Linked DNA regions of Homo sapiens: region 2 is linked to region 1. Evidence: promoter capture Hi-C in human tissues and cell types (Jung and others, 2019). All regions are on one chromosome and are shown on one strand. The core of a region is centred on a gene start or on the middle of the fragment in contact, and the rest is flanking DNA. Distances in the headings are between cores, read along the strand shown.

Region 1 (6,321 bases), core at 3,716-6,215:
ACCAAGAGGGCTTGTGAAAACACAGACTGCTGGGCCCCAGGCCCAGAGCTTCTGATCAGTAGGTCTGGCCTAGGGCCTGAGAATCTGCATTTCTACTAAATTTCCAGGAGATGCTGAGGCAGCAGGTCTGGGGACCACACTTTGAGAAACATGGATCTAGGCTATTCTATCTCTAAAGGTACTTTGTGAAGTTTTCAATTCTGCAAATATTTAATATTCAGATTCACCCAGAAGCCACCCCTCACTTGCTCAGGATGTCATACAGCCTTGAGTCTCCTAGCTTTGGAAGGTGCCCTAAGGGAATATTGGTCCAATGAGAAGGATTTGATATGCATTTCTCTATATTCTTCATATTGCAACTAATGGCAGGGTTTTATGTTTCATTTATTTTTATTTTCATTTTTTTTTAGACGGAGTCTCGCTCTGTTGCCCAGGCTGGAGTGCAGTGGCGTAATCTCAGCTCACTGAAAGCTCCGCCTCCTGGGTTCACGCCATTCTCCTGCCTCAGCCTCCCAAGTAGCTGGGACTACAGGCACCCGCCACCACACCCGGCTAATTTTTTTGTATTTTTGGTAGAGATGGGGTTTCATCGTGTTAGCCAGGATGGTCTCCATCTCCAGACCTCGTGATCTGCCTGCTTTGGCCTCCCAAAGTGCTGGGATTACAGGCGTGAGCCACTACACCCAGCCTTTATGTTTTATTTATATTTTTAAATTTGTTATTACAGCCTCGCTTCACCTCAAATATTTTTATTTTTTTTGAGACAGGGTCTTGCTCTGTCGCCCATGCTGGAGTGAAGTGGTACAATCCCGTCCCACTGCAGCCTCAAGCTCCCAGGCTCAAGCAAGCCTCTCACCTCAGCCTACTGAGTAGCTGGGACTATAGGCATGTGCCACCACACTGGGTTAAATTTTAAAGTTTTTTTTTTTTTTTTTTTTTTTAGAGATGGGGGGGGGTCTCCCTATGTTTCCTAGGCTCGTCTTGAACTCCTTGGTTTAAGCGATCCTCCCCACTTGGCCTCCCTAAATGCTCAGCCAGGGTGTTTTTTTTTTTTTTTAATTAACTATTACAGAACTTTTAAAGCATATACGAAAACAGAGAGAACAGCACGATGACCCTACGTGCCCATCTCCAAACTCTGATGATTGTCACATGAGACCAATCTTGTTTCTATAATCCTTCTGTACTTTTTCTTTTTTCTGGCATAAAAGCAAACCCCAGATATCATGCCATTTCAATGTGCCTCTCTAACAGATGGAGACTTAAAAAACAAAAACAAAAACAACCCACCATGCTTTTATCATACCTAACAAAATTAACAATAATCCTTGTATATCGTAAGATATTCATGCTATATTCAGATTTCCTGATTGTCTCAAAATGTCTTTTTAGAATTGGCAGGTTTGAATAATCTATTATAGTTTACCAGGACTGAATTCAATTAAGTGGATTGACAGATTAAGTTACCTAAGTTTAACTCAACAAACTTTCACAAAATGAAGTAATGGCTTAACCAACTCGTGCAGAAAAACACAGATTGGAAGCATAGAAATAATGGCAGTCAAGTGAACAAAAGGGAAAAGGCAGAGTGAAACTTCTCCTCGTACAAGCTGTCAGTCACATTCGAGATTTAAAACATGTTGATCTAATCAGATCTGACAAGTCAATCAAGACAATTTCAAATTATCAAGAAGACTCTGAGGAGTGAATTTTCATCCACTATCGTCAACTGTAGCAATGGACCCTGCCTGGAGATTGACACCATTATGATTAGTAATTTGAAAATATTATATATTTCATTTTGATCTCTTTCAATTTTCCTAATTTGTATGTATTTATTGTAACATACAAAATATATTAATGTAGTAATACTTAAAGTAATACTTAAAGTGTAATATATAACCATGGTACATGCTCAAAAAATCGTGTGTACACCATCAGAATGTTGAAGTCCTCAGGTCAATACTACACTACAGCCTCCACGCTGGTCTGGTGTCTCAAGCCATGCCCCTTTCCCTGTGCCCAACACCAGCCCTGGCATGGCTTCCTCCATGACCCAAACCCAAACTTGTCTCGCTGCTGTTTACTATTCGGACCTCAGACTGAAGCCAAACTTCGTATGCAGCCCAGTGAGTCTGCCACCCGCTGCTTCCCTCTTTATTTTTATTTATTACTATTATTTTTTTCAGACAGAGTCCCACTCTGTCACCCAGGGTGGAGTGCAGTGGCATGTTCTCAGCTCAGCAACCTCTGCCTCCTGGGTTCAAGCAATTCTCCTCCCTCAGCTTCCCAAGCAGCTGGGACTACAGGCACGTGCCACCACATCCGGCTAATTTTTGTATTTTTAGTAGAGACAGGGTTTTACCATGTTGGCCAGGCTGGTCTCGAACTCCTGACCTCAGGTGATCTGCCTGCCTTGGTCTCCCAAAGTGTTTGGGATTACAGGCATGAGTCACCACACCCAGTCCCTGCTCTCCTCTTTGTTTTTTTGTTGTTCTTGTTGTTGTTTTTGTTGTTTGGTTTTTTGAGATGAAGTCTCACTCTGGCGCCCAGGCTGGAGTGTAATGGCCTCCCAAGTAGCTCGGATTATAGACGTGTGCCACCACACCCAGCCAGTTTTTATAATTTTAGTAGAGATGCGGTTTTGCCATGTTGGCCAGGCTGGTCTCGAACTCCTAACCTCAGGTGATTCTCCAGCCTTGGCCTCCCAATGTGCCGGGATTACAGGCGTGAGCCACGTCGCCCGGCCCTTTGTTTCCCCTTTTAGGCTCCAGGGCAATGCAATGTTAAGCCCAGGCTCAGTCTGCTCTATTGTGTGTGCACGCCATGGCACCCACTGTGCCCTCACTTGGATGACCCTCCTTTGTCCCACAGGTAATTCCTACTGAGCCTTCAAGACCTGGCTGGGCAGTCACCTCCCTCCCCTGACACCATCGTCTCCCCTGCCTGGGTTGTGGACCCTCCTCTGAGCTTCCGTATAAAGTGAGTTTCTGAGGACATTTTGTACCTACGTTAGTAGCACGGTGCAGGGGTAAAGAACATGGACCCTAGAGTCAATCTACAGGGTTGGAATAGTGGCTGCTAACCTACTGGGTTATATGACAAAGACTCAAGCCCACTGTAAAATGGGGCCATGATGCATAATGGTTAAGTGTAAGGAAACTAAATCCAGGGTGGCTAAATTTAAATACGCTGTGCTATTGCTAGCTGAGCGACCGTGGGCAAATTACTCAACATCCATATGCCTAGTTTCCTCATATGAAAAACGAAGATCATAATAGTACCCACCTCATTGGGTTATTGTGAGGGTTCAATGTAAAGCATGTAGAATAGTGCCTGGTACATAGTAAGTGCTCATAAATATCAGCTCTAATCATCATGAGTCTGGATCCCACATTGGATGTCATACATGGTTGAATGAATGGAATGCATTGAATTGTATTGGATTGAAATGAATTAGAGTAAATTGAAGTGAATTAAAATTGTGCCAGCTCTTGTTTGTCTGTCACTGAAGGCTCCTCTCTGGGCCAGCACCTTAAATGGTATAAGGGCTTCCCTCCCTAAGTCCTACTTGTCACTGCCATGGCCCCCAGGATGACTTCTCTTTGCTTCCAGTTAACTAGCCGTTCATATCAACCTAGGAACAAGCAAGGACTCAACCAGGCTCAAGCTTCAACTTTGTCTCAGGGACATTCTTCAAGGAGGCCCTGTCTATTATCAACAACCTATCAGCCCACTGAGATGCCTGAAACTCATTTCAATATTTTTAAAAAAGCAAAGTCACACCATTGTGGACATCTGTCTTATTTACAGTTGTCTCATCACAGTCTGGGAATATTTTTAGCTGAATATAAAATAACCATCATCCTACCCTCCCCTTCAGCCATACCTTCTGGTTCTGGATTTATAGACAGCATGCAGACTTCCCAGCCCCTAAGTGAGAAGAAAGCTGGGGTCGGTGGGGGTGGGGGTGGGGGGTAGCAACAGGCTGAAGCTTCCAAAAGAAAACTAGTATAGATATGAGCAAGAGAGCTGGGCACAGTGCTTCACGCCTGTAATTCCAGCACTTTGGGAGACTGAGGCTGGAGGATCGCTTGTGTCCAGGAGTTTGAGACCAGTCTGGGAAACACAGGGAGACCCACATCTCTACCAAAAAAAAAAAAAAAAAAAATTAGCCAGGCATGGTGGTGCCCTCCTGTGGTCCCAGCTTCTTGGGAGGCTGAGGTGGGAAGATTGCTTGAGACTAGGAGGTCAAGGCTGCAGTGAACCATGATCATGCCACTGCACTTCAGCCTGGGCAACAGAGTGAGACCCTGCCTCAAAAAGAAATAAGAAATGAGCGAGAGGCCACAAAAAGGAAACAAAAACCAAAAACCCAACAACATGAAATTGCTTGCATAAGATAGCTGCACTTGTATCCCCTAAATCTATAAAAATAAAAAAATTCCTTGCCACTGAGGAGAGAGAAGGGGAAGCAGAGAAGCAGAGAATTATGAAGACCATTTGGTAGAGGGAATTTGAGGAACACCAAAGAGGATGCCTCTCACTGTGCTGAAAAATCAAGGCAGGCTTCACAGAAGAGGGCATGCCCAGGCTGCTTCTAAAGGAAAGCTTACATTGTTGGCTGAATTTCGGTGCAATCTACGGAAGAAGATGGGGGAATCTTTTTCCTTGGGATTTTGTAGAAAGGAACATCTGTGCCCCTGGAGAACCACAGGCCTCCCCCGCCCCTGCCCCTGCTATTTGCTCCTGTGACCACTTTTCCAATGAACTCTCACCTTGATAGGATGCCACGAGCCCCTTTTGATCCTCTAAGGAAGCGTCATAGTGGGTAAAAAAATAGAAGAGGAGAATGAGAGCTGCTTCCAGTGTTAGGGCCCAGAGGGGCAGGCAGCGCCGGACAGACCGCGGGTACTTAGAGCTCATCCTGTGTCCGTCTCTGTGCAGGGGTTCCACCAGCACCAGGCATCACCCCTCTCTCCAACACCTACTTGAGGGCTTGAGGGAGCGATAGGGGAGACACCCGCCAAAGGCCTTATCTCAGGCTGCAAGGCTGGTTGTGCTGGCCTCTCTATGGAGTTAACACGGAAGCAGAGGGACTATGATGGGGAGGGGAGGAAATGTATGTTTTCCAATATTGTCATTCATTCAACAAGTTGCTGTGTTCCTGTTACAGGTTCCTGCTGTGCTCAGTTTGAAAGAGGGCATTCTATTCCTTTGACACCCAAACATAATCCTTCTTTACTCTGTACTTCAGTCATCTTCAGCATATCCTTGTAAGAAAAGCAAGGAATGGATCAATACTCCTATTTTATGAATAAGGAAACTGAAGCTCAGAAGAGGCTTTCTTTTTAAAACCTTACTACATGACAGAGAGGGCACCCAGTGAGCTCTTAACAACAATGTATTGAATGAGAATGAATGAAAGCAAAGAATGGAGCTGAGCCCTGGGGAGGATACAGATAGGACCCACGTAGAACTGACTCCTCATAGTTACACAGTTGAAATTACTTACATTTGAATTTGTATTTAAATCTATGTGTTTCTAAGCATTTTAAGGGGGGGTGGCAGAAGAGAAAGGAGATGTGGGTTTGGCTCTAGTAAAAACCTGGAGGGGATCCTGATCCAGCCTTAGGGTGAAGTTGCTCTACCTCTGGTCACCTCCTCACAGGGCAGCCCAGGACTCTGCCTGGGGCACTACAGTGCATTTGAGGAAGGCCACCAGCCTCAGCATCCCCATCCCTCAGTACTGGACAGTCCAGTCCCCTGGCATGAGCTTTAGGGGGCTTGGGACTTAGTTCTAACCCTGCAGCCAACTTCCCCTGTGCTCCCATCCATGTGCCTGGCAGAAGGTCTGGTACATGGTAAGTGTCGAGGAAGGAAGGAAGAGAGAGAGGGATGTAGAGAGGGAGGAAGAGATGAAAGAGGAAGAAAAGAAGGAAGGAATTGGAGTTTCCTTATTTTCTACAATGGTCCCAGCCACTGGCCACTGAGTGTAAACTGAATGTGTGGAGCCCCAGAGAATAAAGCCAGGGCCAGGAGCTGCAGGGAGGTGGAAAGTGGATACTTTATTGACCATTACAGTTGTCCACTGAAATACTCATGAGGTAGTGAGCACCCTGTCACTAGAGGAATGCAGAAATGTCTTGAAAACAATTCCTATGTAGATCAGAGGAGATTTTAATCACCCAGTCGAATCCTGTCATTTTGTTTTTAGACCAAGAAACCAAGACCCAGAGAGGTCATACCTAAGGTCATCTAGTCACTTGGCATCAGTCACTTCTTGCTCAGTGCAGCTTTATTTACAGAAGGAAAAAACTG
Region 2 (6,788 bases), core at 3,255-5,754, 170 kb before region 1:
CCTGAAGTCTCACACTGGCCATTTGTTAATTACAGCCTTGCTAATCAAAGTATTGGTCTCTGGACTAGCAGAATCACCATCACATATTAGCTTTTTAGAAAAGCAGAATTTCAGGACCTATTTAATCTAAGCCTGCATTTTAACCAGATCCCTAGGCTACTTGCGCATACAATCAAATTTTAGAAGCACTGGTATATAACATAAATTTCTCATTGTCATGGAATTTCCACTCAATTACAGGATGTCTCAGAAAAAAGACAATGCCCTAATCAGATAATCCGTACTTATCACCAAATGGTTGACTGTCCTTCTCATAACTGGGAACATTCAAACTGTTCAGGGTTAGTTCTTCCATTTTTCTACATTTCTTTCTGAGTCAAAGCCAAGATCCCTACCTAAGTACAATTAAAACTAAATGAAGCACTTCCATAGCTACTCATCCTTCGGCACACAGCACAAATATCACTTCCTCACAATAAGCCGCCCTAACCCCAAAGTAAAGACTAGGACCCCATTACATATTCACGTAGCATCCTGTACTATAAGAACACTGAATCACAATGATAATTAAATAATATTTTGTGTAATTAACTGTTCGGATGTAAAGTCCACAAGAAAAAAGGAGCTGCCCATTTTGTTCCCTGTTTTATCTCCTTAGTGCCCAGCACAGTACTCTGACTACAGGATCTTAACTATTTTTTTTCTCAAAAAATATTTGTTGAGGCCGGGAGCAGTGGCTCACGCCTATAATCCCAGCACTTTGGGAGGCTGAGGCGGGTGGATGACCTGAAGTCAGGAGTTCGAGACCAGCCTGGCCAACATGGTGAAACCCCGTCTCTACTAAAAATACAAAAAAATTAGCCAGGCAGATGCCTGTAATCCCAGCTACTCTGGAGGCTGAAGCAGGAGAATCGCTTGAACCCAGGAGGTGGAGGTTACAGTGAGCCGAGATCATACCACTGAGCTCCAGTCTGGGCAACAAGAGCAAAACTCCGTCTCAAAAAAAAAAAATGTTGAATGAATGATCTGTAATGTAGAAAAGTGTTTAGGACTGACAGTAGGACTTTTACCAAAGCACATACTTACAACGAATATAGAGGGAGAGATGACACACAGGTGACTGACTGGGAAGGTGTCTGGACAAAGCAACAACAACCAAGATAACCAATGCAGCTTCTGCCTGAACGATTACCATGAACCTGCTCCCATCTGTTCTGAATGTTCTTCACTATGAAGAAACTAATTTAATAAGCCTTGTTCTGGGTGCCAGACTATCACTCCATTTGGCCTACCTGCCACTGGCTCTGACGACAGCGGTGGTTCTCAAAGTATCTTCTAGTAAGCCAGACACTAAAGAGCTATGCAAAAATGTAAAACCACACCAGTCTTCTCATGAATTTATTAATTTATTGTTACTTTTCTTTTTTTTTTTTTTTTTTGAGATGGAGTCTCACTCTGTCGCCCAGGCTGGAGTGCAATGGCGCAATCTTGGCTCACTGCAACCTCTACCTCCCAGTTCAAGTGATTCTCCCACCTCAGCCTCTCAAGTAGCTGGGATTACAGGTGCCTACCACCATGCCTGGCTAATTTTTGTATTTTTAGTAGAGATGGGGTTTCACCATGTTGACCAGGCTGGTCTCGAACTCCTGACCTCAGGTGATCCGCCTGCCTTGGCCTCACAAAGTGCTGGGATTACAGGCGTGAGCCACTGTGCTCAGCAATTTATTGGTACTTTTAAGTGAACTAATGTTTTAAATTTTTCTATTTTAACTTTTTTCTTTCTTCTTTTTTTTTTTTTTTTCCCAGAACTGGGGTCTTCCTTTGTTGCCCAGGCTGAAGTGCAGTGGTACAATCATAGTTCACTGCAGCCTCAACCTCAACCTGGGCTCAAGTGATCCTCCTATCTCAGCCTCCAGAGTAATTAGGACTACGGGCACATACCACCATGCTTGGCTAATTTTTTTTTTTTTTTTTTTGTAGAGATGGGATGTTGCTATGTTGCCCAGATTGGTCAACATAGCAAGATCCTGGGCTCAAGTGATCCTCCTACCTTGACCTCCCAAAGTGTTGGGACTACAGGCATGAGCCACCACATCCAGCCAGTTTTAATTTCTAATACAGTAAATATTGATAGATATAATCCATATAAACCAAATCTCTGTGATATTCTCAATCTTTTTTTTTTTTTTTGAGACAGAGTTTCGCTTGTTGCCCAGGCTAGAATGCAATGGTACGATCTCGGCTCACCGCAATCTCTGCCTCCTGGGTTCAAGTGATTCTCCTGCCTCAGCCTCCCAAGTAGCTGGGATTACAGGCATGCGCCACCATGCCCAGCTAATTTTTCATTTTTAGTAGAGACGGGGTTTCTCCAAGTTGGTCAGGCTGGTCTCAAACTCCTGACCTCAAGTGATCCACCTGTCTCAGCCTCCCAAAGTGCTGGGATTACAGGTGTGAGCCACAGTGTCCAGCCTCAATCATTTTTAAGAGTGTAAAGAGATCCAGAGACAAAAAAATTTTTTGACAAAAAAAAAAAAAACAGAAATTTGTGTGTGAGCCTTAACATAAAATAAACTGGAACCACTGCTGCATTCTGCAGGCACCTCCTTGTATAAAATCCAAAAAAGGGGAGCAGGCTGAGAAGACCAAGCTGTTCTATATTTCTTTTTTCTATTCTAGGCCTCCTGCATACTGCAAAGGGAACCTTTCTAGTGTCAATTACACACACACACACGCGCGCGTACATGTGCAGCCACTGCAATGACAAATCTAACAGTGTGAAATATGCCCTTTTTTGTTTGTTTATTTTTTTCAGAGACAGAGTCTTACTCTGTCTCCTAGGCTGTAGCGCAGTGGTGTGATCATAACTCACTGCAACCTCCAACTCCTGAGCTCAAGCGATCCTCCCACCTCAGCCTCCCAAGTAGCAAGGGTGACAGGCAAGAGCCACCATGCCTGGCTATTTTTTTTCTTTAAAAATAAATAAATAAATAAATAGGGTATCTTATGCCTTTCACTAAGGTGTAAGTACTTTGTACTATTTTTGTGACTTTTCTGTTTAATTAAATCTAAAATTATTTCAAAATGAGAAGTTAAAAAGAAGCAACACATACTTGTTATTAAAAAGGTAATATAATGTATAATATAAAAGCCCTTAGTAGTCCTGCCCCAAGATGATTGCTGTTATATAATTCATAAATATAATTTGCTTTTTCTATATAAACAAATGTGTTTCTTTCTTAACAAAAACAGGTTTCTGTTTGACATGTCCACTTCTTTTTTTTTTAGTTTTTTATTTTATTTTATTTTTCTTGAGACAGTCTCACTCTGTTGCCTAGGCTGGAGTGCAGTGGCACAATCTCGACTCACTGCAACCTCTGCCTCCTGGGTTCAAGCAGTTCTCCCAAGTCTCCCAAGTAGCTGGGATTACAGGCGCATGCTACCACGCCCAGCTAATTTTTATATTTTTAGTAGAGACGGGGTTTCGCCACGTTGGCCAGGCTGGTCTTGAACTCCTGACCTCAGGTGATCCACCCGCCTCGACCTCCCAAAGTGCTGGGATTACAGGCGTGAGCCACGGGGCCCAGTCATGTCCACTTCTTTATATAGAATTTCCCTTATCCATTTTAGCAGCAACATAGAGTTCCACATAGAATTTACACTGTTCTCTGCAGTCTCCTAACTTCTGTTTCTGTACTCTTTCAATAGTGCCTTGCAGCTTTTTAGTTCTCTATTCCTCAGGTTTGTTTCCTATAAAATGGCAATACCTACTCTGCCTATTTCACACTTGTGAGGATAAAATGAGATAATATGAAAACATTTGGAAAAGTTACAAGTAAGACAGAAATGTAAGGTGTGATTAAGCAGATTATTACTATCAATTATATGAAGCATAATTTTGATTCCCTTATGAAATGAATTTCTAATGTTTATATAATGTTAACAGGTTTTTTTAGAGCCTGTGAGTTGTTTTCTCTCTCCGCCTATGCTTCTTCACCCCTCCCCTTCCTCAACCCCATAGACTCCACACTGTTAAAAGTATTCTTGAAACAGAAATTCTAAAACTCACCACCTGCATTAGGTTACAATACCTGTCCTTGATATCTCTGTGGTCTATACAGACCTTTATAAAAATGTTATACTACAAAACCGTGAAAACCTTTTTTAGCGATTTCCATTCTAGATTTTTTTTTTCCTTTAAATTGGGGGCTGATTATGGTGGCTCACGCCTATAATATCAGCACTTTGGGATTATATTAACCACCACGCCCAGCCAATTCTCTTTTTTTGACACAGGGTCTTGCTCTATTGCCCAGGCTGGAGTGTAGTGACACGATCATGGCACACTGCAGCCTCAAACTCCTGGGCTCACGTGATCCTCCCGCCTCAGCCTCCCAAGTAGCTGGGACTACAGGAATGTGACACCACACCCAGCTAATTTTTTTGAATTTTAGTAGAGATGAGGTCTCGCTATGTTACCTAGGCTAGTCTTGAACTCCTGGACTCAAGCAATCCTCTTGCCTTAGCCTCCCAAAGTGCTGGGGTTACAGCCATCACACCCGGCCAAAAATTCTTATTACATCTGAGCAAGACGACTCAAGCCTCAGACAGTATCTCTCTTTTCTGAGACAGGAATCCTTACTTTGGACATGAACATAGTATTCATTCTCTTTAATGTTCAACTATTCTTGCTACAAGATAGGCAAAGTACTGATTTTAGTACTCAGCTATTTATTTGGTTTTTAAAAGTGTTGGGTGGGTGCGGTGGCTCATGCCTATAATCCCAGTACTTTGAGAGGTCAAGGTGAGTGGCTCACTTGAGCCCAGGAGTTCAAGACCAGCCTATACAACACGGCGAGACTCCATCTTTATAAAAACGCAAAAACGCAAAAAAAAAAAAAAAAAAAAAAAGCCAGGCATGGTAGTATATGCCTTTGGTCCCAGCTACTCGGTCAGCTGAAGTGTAAGGATCTCTTGAACCCAGGAGATGAAGGATACAGTGAGCTGTGATCTCGCTGCTGGACTCCAGCCTGGGCGACAGAATGAGACCCTGTCTCAAAAAAAAAAAAAAAAGTGTTTTGAAGATGAACAACGTAACAATATGATTCAAAAACAGAATGAGATTATTTCTAGCCACTCCTCTGTGCTGAGTGGGAGATCGGTCCTAAACAGCTCAAACTCATCAGTGATATGAACAGATATATGAAAGTGGAGTAGTCACACCATTTTAATCACTAAATGCAAAAGCTCTGAAAAAGAGAAGGCAACAGAGGAGATGGGGTGAGGGATACATTATTTTTGGTGCCACAATCCCATGACTCAAAGTGGGCATATCATCCTTAAAGGCAGCAGAGAAAAAAATATAAAGCAATCAAGGTCAGTACTATGACTGTCTTCAAAGGCCAGGGAAGACAAGTGCCTTGGAAGGCTCATCAGCTGAGACAATTTGATGTCGGTTAAATGTCAAATTAAAGATACAGAGCCTCAATATTCTCTAAAAGTTGATTAACTTTTTTCAAGCTTCCATTGCCAGGATGCAAGGTGAGAGGCTTTGAAAAGTCACTACTTAAGCATCTGAAGAAATCCACAGTGGAAAAAGTCTAACAAGGATATGTGTATCTACTGTTGTATGTACCATCCTACTTATGCAGCTTGCTGGACAGCCAACTTCTTTTTCTTCTGGACTTAATTCTTGAGCAAGAGCCAAGTAAAATAATTATGCCCAAATCTAGTAAGCCTGGGGATAAACTAATCAGTATATCTGAAGAGCACACTAAATTTTATGAAGAAAAGTAACCTAATTACAGTATTTCACTTAACTATGTTTGTGAAATTTCTACTTGCCCTCCAAACTCCACAAGATGGTAGCCTAGAAACAGATAAAACAAAGTGCACTTTATATACATAAAACCCCAAAGGGTTAACAGTATCAGTGGGGAGATCTGGGAGAAATGGCCAAAGAAAAAGATTCTAGGAACATAAATGCTTACAGAACATGGACTGGGTCCATGAGATATATACAAGCATATAACTAGTAAGAAAATGTAAATAATTATTTGTTAAACCTACCATTAAGATCAATCTCTAAATCTAGTGAGGTTCAAGAGAGGCCATGAGGAATCGATGTGAAGAAAAAGGAGACTATCAATGATAAAACAGGAAGCTTTTAAGCAAATAATGTGAAGTGAATCACGTTCTCTCCTGTTCCCCTCCTCAACCCAGCAGCAATTTAAAGGGATTTTCAAAACACCTAATGAAACTAAACTGCCAAGACTGCTCAGACAGGAAGAATCATAATGAAAGTTGGAGGAAAGTGCTTTTTCATCCCAGTGTGGCCGATTTTTAAAGTGTATTTTGTGAAAACCACAAATAGAAGAGTTTAGCTAATAAACACTTCACTGCACAGGTTAGTGAAAACATTTCAATTTCTCCTTCCCCAACACTCCTCTAAAACAATACAGAATCTATCACTTTCGTGCCAGGTCCAGGATTGTTAAAGTTAAAGCCTACCAAGATTACCAAAATGCTTTTAGGCTATGAGATTGCAACACAGGTATCTGGGGTTTCAGTTGCAGAACACATGTACAATCAAGGCAGCCAAGGGTCATGACAGCCTGCAGTGACTTTAATAAGCATAGCCCAAAGGAGTCTAAAACTAGGCTTAGAAAACATCATTAAGGAGGCAGAAAAAGCAGTCAAATGAAACCTCTGGAGATCAGATGTAGACAAGGGTCTGAAAAAGGAAATTGGGAAGTTGAGAAGAATGCAAAATTTAATCACTTTAAAAAGTC

Evidence for each region. The method cuts DNA at HindIII sites, captures the fragments that hold promoters and counts their contacts. A contact is called where the count stands out against the background at its distance.
Region 2: a contact is called between a fragment that was not itself captured here and the fragment with the promoter of RHD in region 1, in 1 of the 25 tissues and cell types used here (dorsolateral prefrontal cortex).

The regions. Positions count from the first base shown.
Region 1 is chr1:25,271,153-25,277,473 of GRCh38, reverse strand. RHD (Rh blood group D antigen) reads right to left here and starts at 4,965. Exons shown (of 10, transcript NM_016124.6): 1 at 4,779-4,965. The coding sequence starts at 4,926. LOC105376882 (a long non-coding RNA gene) reads left to right here and starts at 2,850. Exons shown (of 2, transcript XR_947099.3): 1 at 2,850-2,982. It also overlaps a transcript of RSRP1 not described here. The HindIII fragment of the contact is 5,221 bases long and covers 4,304-6,321 here.
Region 2 is chr1:25,435,419-25,442,206 of GRCh38, reverse strand. The region is part of intron 1 of MACO1 (macoilin 1); the gene reads right to left. Among named protein-coding and RNA genes, the nearest start is that of MACO1, 7.9 kb to the right of the region's middle. RefSeq lists an enhancer at 6,289-6,378. The HindIII fragment of the contact is 4,093 bases long and covers 2,458-6,550 here.